Regions from separate parts of the Homo sapiens genome. Here region 1 is linked to region 2. Evidence: promoter capture Hi-C in 16 types of primary human blood cells and fetal thymus (Javierre and others, 2016). All regions are on one chromosome and are shown on one strand. Each heading gives the region's core, a stretch centred on a gene start or on the middle of the fragment in contact. The rest is flanking DNA. Distances are from core to core; before and after follow the strand shown. Region 1 overlaps UBE2R2 (ubiquitin conjugating enzyme E2 R2). Region 2 holds the start of UBE2R2 (ubiquitin conjugating enzyme E2 R2).

Evidence for each region. The method cuts DNA at HindIII sites, captures the fragments that hold promoters and counts their contacts. A CHiCAGO score of 5 or more calls a contact.
Region 1: a contact is called between a fragment that was not itself captured here and the fragment with the promoter of UBE2R2 in region 2, in 5 of 17 cell types (monocytes, M2 macrophages, total B cells and 2 more). The highest score is 8.1, in monocytes.

The regions. Positions count from the first base shown.
Region 1 is chr9:33,857,879-33,861,817 of GRCh38, forward strand. The region is part of intron 1 of UBE2R2 (ubiquitin conjugating enzyme E2 R2); the gene reads left to right. Among named protein-coding and RNA genes, the nearest start is that of UBE2R2-AS1, 41 kb to the left of the region's middle. The HindIII fragment of the contact is 4,579 bases long and covers 11-3,939 here.
Region 2 is chr9:33,814,891-33,818,734 of GRCh38, forward strand. UBE2R2 (ubiquitin conjugating enzyme E2 R2) reads left to right here and starts at 2,270. Exons shown (of 5, transcript NM_017811.4): 1 at 2,270-3,044. The coding sequence starts at 2,868. It overlaps UBE2R2-AS1 (UBE2R2 antisense RNA 1), which reads right to left. Exons shown (of 5, transcript NR_170204.1): 1 at 3,737-3,844. RefSeq lists an enhancer at 1,780-1,869 and silencers at 2,160-2,259, 2,440-2,649, 2,720-2,889. The HindIII fragment of the contact is 11,190 bases long and covers 1-3,844 here.

The DNA.
Region 1 (3,939 bases), core at 1,050-3,549, 43 kb after region 2:
TTTTCAGCTAAGCTTCTTAAGATGGAAGTTGTTCCTTAATAATGGCTAAAGCCCTATGGGAATATGTTCTTTCATTTATTACAATAAGTTAGAAAGTCCTTATTACTGTAAGGCCAAGATGCTAACTTTATGAGGCACCAGTTTCTCCTAATGGAGAGTTTTTTCCCCCACCTCACAGAATAATCGCATATAATAAAAGCTAATTTACCCACTCCTGAAGGTAAAATACTTACTCACTTTCACATATCTCTATATAGTACATTACTGGATGATGTAAATAACAATTCTCTTTTGTTGTATCCTGAAGTACCCTAGAATCTTCTCAGGAAGAGTAAGTTAGATTCCGAAAGGTAGCTTGCCATTATCAAAAGATAGTACTCCATACTCTACTGTCTCAGGAGAGACAGGAGACACCTTCTGTCCCGTCTTTACATTCTGATCAGAAATTAAAGAAAATAGGAAGGTAGAGAACAATAAGTGTATTTTGTTAAGCACTTGGTTCTTTGAATATTTGTAATCTATAATAGAGTATAGATGTTAATTTTTTTTTTCCTCAGACGGTGTCTCACTTTGTCAGCCATGCTGGAATGCAGTGGCATGATCTTGGCTAGCCACAGCTACGACCTCCCAGGCTCAAGCAGTCTTCCTGTCTCAACCCACTAAGTAGCTGGGATGCACCACCACACCTGGCTTTTTGTATTTTGCTAGAGATAGGGTTTTGCCATGTTGCCCAGGCTGGTCTTGAACTCCTGATAGAGCTCAAGCACTCCACCCACCCCAGCCTCCCAGGGTTCTGGGATTACAGGCATGAGTCACCGTTGCCAGGCCAATATTAAATATTTTAATTAGAGTCAGTGCTAAATCATTGCATTCTACTCTAGGACTATGCCAGGTAATAGTGTATTCTCTTTACATTTCAGTTTATGGAGGAGTTTGTTTTGTTTTGTTTTGTTTTGTTTTGTTTGAGATGGAGCCTCACTCTGTTGCCCAGGGTGGAGTGCAGTGGCGCAATCTCAGCTCACTGCAACTTCTGCTCCCCTGGGTTCAAGCAGTTCTCCTGCCTCAGCCTCCCAAGTAGCTGGGATTACAGGTGCCTGCCACCACACCCGGCTAATTTTTGTATTTTTAGTAGAGACAGGGTTTCACCATGTTGGCCAGGCTGGTCTTGAACTCCTGACCTCATGATCCACCCACCTTGGCCACCCAAAGTGCTGGGATTACAGACATGAGCCACCATGTCCGGCCGGAAGAGTTCATTTTAATATTAAAAAATATATGCTATGAATTGTGGTTTCTGAGCAGTAATGCATATACTTTGAAATCATTAAACCTTTATAAAATTTTTGTTTTCAAAATGTAATTGTTACTATACTCTGTGTATTTTATCTTTGATAGATTAAAAATACTCTGATATCTGCTCAAAGCTGACATATTCAGAAATTTATGAAAACTAAGCTAAGCTGGGAAGCATAGTTTATATTGAAATTTGCTTAGGCTCATTGCCCAAGTTTAGTTTGGAATCCCTAACCTGCCTGATAGTTTTAGATCCTTGAGAATATCCCTGTTTTAACATAGTAGGTCATATTTTCAAAATGCCTACAAGAATGGTTTATGTAGAGTATTAAAATCTTAAGACTGGGATGGACTCTGAGATACTATTTTTCATTACATCTTTATTTTGGAAAACTTACTAGAACTAGTATTTCCCCCCTAAATAGCTGAAAATTTTTACAGAAGCATTGTTGTGACGTTAGGAGCCTTGAGACTTTAAATTTCTTTGTTTTGTTTTTCAGAATAATTTTGGATTCAAGAAAATATGATTTGGTTATTTAAATGTAGGTTTAATGTTTAACATACAGTCCTTGTGGTTATCTAAGCCTTTTGTGTGTGTGTGTGTGTGTGTGTGTGTGTGTGTGTGTGTGAGAGAGAGAGAGAGAGAGAGAGACAGGATCTCTCTCTATGACCAGGCTGGAGTGCAGTGGCAGTGGTGCAATCAGGGCTCACTACAGCTTCAACCTCCTGGGCTCAAGCAATCTTTCTACCTCACCTTCCCAAGTAGCTGAGACCACAGGCATGAACCACCATGTCCAGCTAATTTTTAAAATTTTTATAAAGACAAGGTCTCCCTGTGTTGCCCGGATTGGTCTTGAACTCCTGGCCTCAAGCAGTTCTCCTGCCTTGGCCTCCCAATGTGCTGAGATTACAGGTGTGAGCCACCTTGCCTGCCCTTTTTTTTTTTTTAAAAAAATAGCATTTTAGGAGGGCACGTTTCTCAAGTAATTATGTAAAAGGAAGTTCTTTTGATTGGGAAGAAAACCTTCCTGACAGGCAAAATATTGATACACAAGCCTCTTTTCCTCCTGACATTTTAGCCTTTTGTGTAAGTTTATGTTTTTATTACCATCCCCTTTCCTCTGATTCCTAGTTGCTTTCCCCTGACATTTTCTGTCATTAATTAGGTTATAAGTGGCAGATACATTTTTGGAAGAGACTCCAGCATCCTGTGGTAGTGACCTGTTACTACGCCCTACCACTCTTTGGCTGTGTAAAAACATTGCTGTCAATACCTTTTCCTTTGTTCATTCTTTGAATTCTTGTGTGCTTGAAATCAGAATTTTCACAGATTCATGGTTGTATGACATCAGATTTTCATTTTTTGTTTGACTTTATTTGTTTTATTTGTTTGAATTTTCTTCTTTCTAGGGGTGGTGTGGTAAAATAGAATATGAGTTAACTCAAGGCCTGGCATGTTGGTTCACACCTGTAATCCCACCAATTTTGGGAGGCTGAGGCAGGAAGATCACTTGAGTATAGGAGTTTGAAGCCAGCCTGGGCAACATAGTGAGATCCCATCTCTACAAAAAAATTAAATAAATATTGTGGGTGTGGTGGCCTGTAGCCCTAGCTACTTGGAAGGCTGAGGTGGGATGATCTCTTGAGCCCAGGAGTTTAAGGCTGCAGTGAACTATGATCATGCCACTGTACTCCAGACTAGGTGACAGACTGAGACACCCCACCCTCCCCACCCCCTCCCCACAATCGTTAACCCTGTGTTAAGTTTTTTTTTGTTTGTTTGTTTGTTTTTTGTTTTTTTTTTTGAGACGGAGTCTCGCTCTGTCCCCCAGGCTGGAGTGCAGTGGCGCGATCTCGGCTCACTGCAAGCTCCGCCTCCTGGGTTCACGCCATTCTCCTGCCTCAGCCTCCAGAGTACCTGGGACTACAGGCGCCCGCCACCACGCCCGGCCAATTTTTTCTATTTTTTTAGTAGATAGGGGGTTTCACTGTGTTAGCCAGGATGGTCTCGATCTCCTGACCTCATGATCCGCCCGCCTCGGCCTCCCAAAGTGCTGGGATTACAGGCGTGAGCCACTGCGCCTGGCCAACCTTGTGTTAAGTTTTAAAAAGCAGGCCGGGGTTGGTGGCTCATGCCTCTAATCACAGCACTTTGGGAGGCCGAGGCGGGCAGATTGCCCGAGGTCAGGAGTTTGAGACTAGCCTGGCCGACATCTCTACAAACCCCATCTCTACAAAAAATAGAAAATACAAAAATACAAAAGTTAGCCACGCATAGCCTATAATCCCAGCTACTTATGAGGCTGAGGCACACGAATCTCTTGAACCTGGGAGGTGGAGGTTGCAGTAGGTGGAGGTTGCAGTGAGCTGAGATCATGCCACTGCACTCTAGCCTAGGCGACAGAGTGAGACCCTGTCTCAAAAAAAAAAGTTTGAACAAGCTAGTCTTCATTAATTAGATAATGGGAAACAACAGTATCTGACAGTCTTCTGCAATTTTAATTTTAAAGGGTTTATTTTGTGTACTTTTTCAAAAGCAGTAACATATTTAAGGTAAACTTGAATGTTTTTTGATGGAGTAAAATATGGATTGATGAAAGTGTTTTAAATCTTTTCAGTCTGTTGTTTCTTTTCCAAATGACTGTC
Region 2 (3,844 bases), core at 1,020-3,519:
CATTCCAAAGAGTACAGTATAGAAAAGGGGAGGAAGGGGCAGAGTAACTTTACAGTAGAAAGACTTGACACACTTCCTCAGCCAGACAATCAAGGTCAACATCAACATTGCTAAGTCATGTTGCTATTTGTGCCCTTAATATGATGTGATGAAATGGCATTTCACCTCTGTGATCTTACCCTCAAAAACTCATAATCCCAGTCTAATCATGAGAAAAGCATCACAATCCCAATTGAGGGACAGTCTACAAAATACTTGACCAGTATTCTTCAAAACTGTTAAGGTCATCAGAACAAAGTCTAAGAAACTGCCACAGTCAAGAGGAATCTACAGAAACAGGAAAACTGAATGTAGTCTGGTATCCTGGATGAGATCCTGGAACAGCAAAAGGTCAGTAGGTAAAAATTAGGGAAGTATGAGCTTCAGTCAACAGTGATGTATCAATATTAGCTCATTAATTGTAATACATGTACTCTACTAATGTAATATGTTAATAAAAGGGGGAACTGGGCGCCAGGTGTAGGGGAACTTGACTATCTTTTCAATTTTTCTATAAATCTAAAACTGTCCTTGGCTGGGCACAGTGGCTCACGCCAGTAATCCCAGCACTTTGGGAGGCTGAGGTGGACGGATCACCTGAGGTCAAGGGTTGGAGACCAGCCTCGCCAACATGGTGAAATCCCGTCTCTACTAAAAATACAAAAATTAGCTGGGCATGGCTGTGCACACCTGTGGTCCTGCTACTTGGGAGACTGAGGTTAGAGGATGGCTTAAGCCCAGGAGGTTACTGCTAGAGTGAGCTATAATCACTCTACTGTACTCCAGCCTGGGCAACAGAGTAAGACCCTGTCTCAATAAAAGGGGTGGGTAGTGGTGGTATCCAGAATACAGCTATGCCTTAAAGTTTTTTTCTTTCAAGTTTCTATGAATCATTAACCATGTGCCAGTCACTACGCTAAATGCTGTACATACATTTAATCATTACAATTGCTTGTGTTGGGTATAATTAATCCCCTTTTACAGAAGCTGATTAAACAGCCGGGTGTGGAGGCATGCACCTGTAGTCCTAGCTACTTGGGAGGCTGAGGTGGGAGAATCGCTTGAACCTGGGAGGCGGAGGTTGCAGTGGGCCATGATCGCGCCACTGTGCTACAGCCTGGGTGACAGAGCAAGACCCTGTCTCAAACAAAACAAAACCAAAAAACAAAAAACTGATGATACAGGGAGAAGTAATGGAACTAGGGTTGGAACCAAGATCTGTCTAGTTCCGAAACTGTGTGTGTAGAACTCTCACAATATTCTGGCTTTTCTAGGAAATGTTTTTTAGGCAGTTATCCTAGGACATGCCTTCCTAGGAGAAAGGAGTACTGTATTCTGAACCACGGGGGGACCAAAGACTGTCCCCACATCTCACTTCGGTTATGATTATCTCGAAAGTCCCTCAGTTCCAGGGTGGACATTCAAGCCACAAGCACCTATAGGGAACTTTGACCCCTAAGTTCAACCACAGTAGTTTATTTTACAAATGGCGAAGGCGAAGGGCAGCCTGAGCACTTGCCCCAAATCACAATGAGAAGGGCTAGAGACCCAGTTTGTTATTGTCTTTTTCCTCACAACTTCCTCTTTGTAGTTAAGAAGGGAAGCAGAAGCTGACCTTTTTGTCTCACCCCGTTTCTCACGTGGAACTGCCGCACCCAGGGTGAGTAACGTGCCAAAGGGCACACTTGCCTGTGGGCTGGCCTGCGGGAAGGTCTGTTCCCACCGAAAAGACCCACATTGTCAGCACATCCTAATCAAGTAGCTACTAAGTGGAGGGACCGCAGACTGGGTGTCACGGGGAGGGGCCTGCAGCGACCAGGCCCGTCCCAGGATGGCTGCGGAGGCCCCTGGATCCACAGTGGGGAGGGCCCCGAGAGCCGGGAGACCTGGGTTCCCTTCCCGGGCACGCCTTTGGAACTGCGGCGTCCAGCCGCACAACCGTCACTCTGGGGCCACGGCAATCCCTGCGCCCGCCCTTGGTCCCCGCTGCTTCTGGGATCTTTATGGGCGGGGGACACGCGCCAGCGTCACAAAGCGCCGCGACCGCGCGGGAGACCGAGAGGAGGCGTGGAAACGGGAGGAGGAGGAGGTGGTAGTGGAGGAGAGCCAGGCACGGTGGGGGGAGGGGAGGGAGGGGCACGCGCACGCGCGTCGGGCCGCCAGCCGCTGAGAGCCGCCCAGCACCCGGCGTGCGCCCCTCCTCCCTCTCTCCCTCCCTCCCTCCCTCCCTGCTTCTCGGCTCCGTTGCTCCCGCGGCGCGAGGCGCTCTCGCTCTCCTCCTCCTCCGCCGTCGCCCCTCCCCCCGCGCAGCCCCCGCCGCCACCGCCGCGAGACCCCCGCACGCCGCTCTCCCCCCACCCTCTCCTGCCCCGCGCGCCCTCCGGCCCCTGCGGCCCCCGAAGAGAACGAGAGGGCGAGCGAGCGCGGCGTTCCCGGGCCGGCCCGGCCCCCTCCCTTCACCATCGCCGGCCCTCCGCCGCCTTCCTCCGCTTCCACCTCCTCTCCCCCCCCCCAAGTTGAGGCCCCCTCCGGGGGGGGGAGGCCCGGGACCGGGACCCGTAGCGAATTCTCCTAACTCCCTCGACCTCTCCTCTCGCCCGGCCCGAGTGTGAGGAGAAGGGCCCGGCCCGGCCTGCGTCGTGTGTGAGGAGGACCCCGGGCGGGCCCACGGGCCGTGTGGGGCCTGGTCTGGCCCGCCGGGTGTGTGAAGACCGGGGCCCGGTGCTGCCCGGCCGGAGGGCGAGCGGAGGGGAGGGGCCTGGTCCGGCCCGGCCGGTGCGTGAGGACTGGGGCCCGGGCCCGGCGCCGCCGCCGCCGCCGCCGCCGCGATGGCCCAGCAGCAGATGACCAGCTCGCAGAAGGCCCTGATGCTCGAGCTGAAATCCCTGCAGGAGGAACCGGTGGAGGGCTTCCGGATCACCCTGGTGGACGAGTCCGACCTCTACAACTGGGAGGTGGCCATCTTCGGACCCCCCAACACCCTCTACGAAGGCGGCTACTTCAAGGTACCCTCACCCTCCTCCCGGACCCTGCTTCCGCGGCCGAGGCCTCCGGCTCCCCGCCGCTTTCTGCAGTTCCTGGGACCAGGAGTATGAGCACGGGCGAGTGGAGGGGGCTTCTCACCCGTGCAGCCCCCTCCCCCATCCCTGGAGGCAGGAAGGCCTTGCTCGCCGAGTGCCTTTTCTTTGTCATGGGGGCGGGGGCTCGGGCGGGGGCGGGAGGGCAGGCTGCACCGGGAAATCGGAGAGCCTCTCTGGTTAGGGTAGTGTCTACGGGCGGAGGAGGCCGCCTTTGTTTCCCCCGCTGAGGGTGGGTGGAAAGAGCGGTGGTCTATCTGTGCTTTTTCGTTCTCCGGTCGGAACCCCTCCCTGCGCAGGCTGGAACTGCCCCAGAGGGCAGGGTGACCTGCACCGACTGGATTGGACTTTTCTTTTTTGGGGGGTGGGGGTGGGGGTGGGGTGGGGGAGGGGCACCAGCTTGTCATTTCAGAAGCTGCCGAGTGCCCTGACATTTTGAGGATTTGTTGGGCATCTTGGGTAGTGGTAGTGCCAACTTTGCATTCCAATGGGTGGTGGTGAAGAATGGGACCCTAGGGGTGGTAAAAAAAAAAAAAAAAAAAAAAAGGGTGCCCGCGTCGTCTTGTCATTATCCATTTGGGGGAACTTTAACCCTCTTTCCGTTCACATTCTCTGCTTACCTCAGTCACTGGTTCTTTCAAAATGCCCTTTGTCCTCACCATGCCACCAAGTTTGCCAACCTTTTTTTCTACAGGTAGAAGTATCCACAAAGGGTGGAACGAGTCATG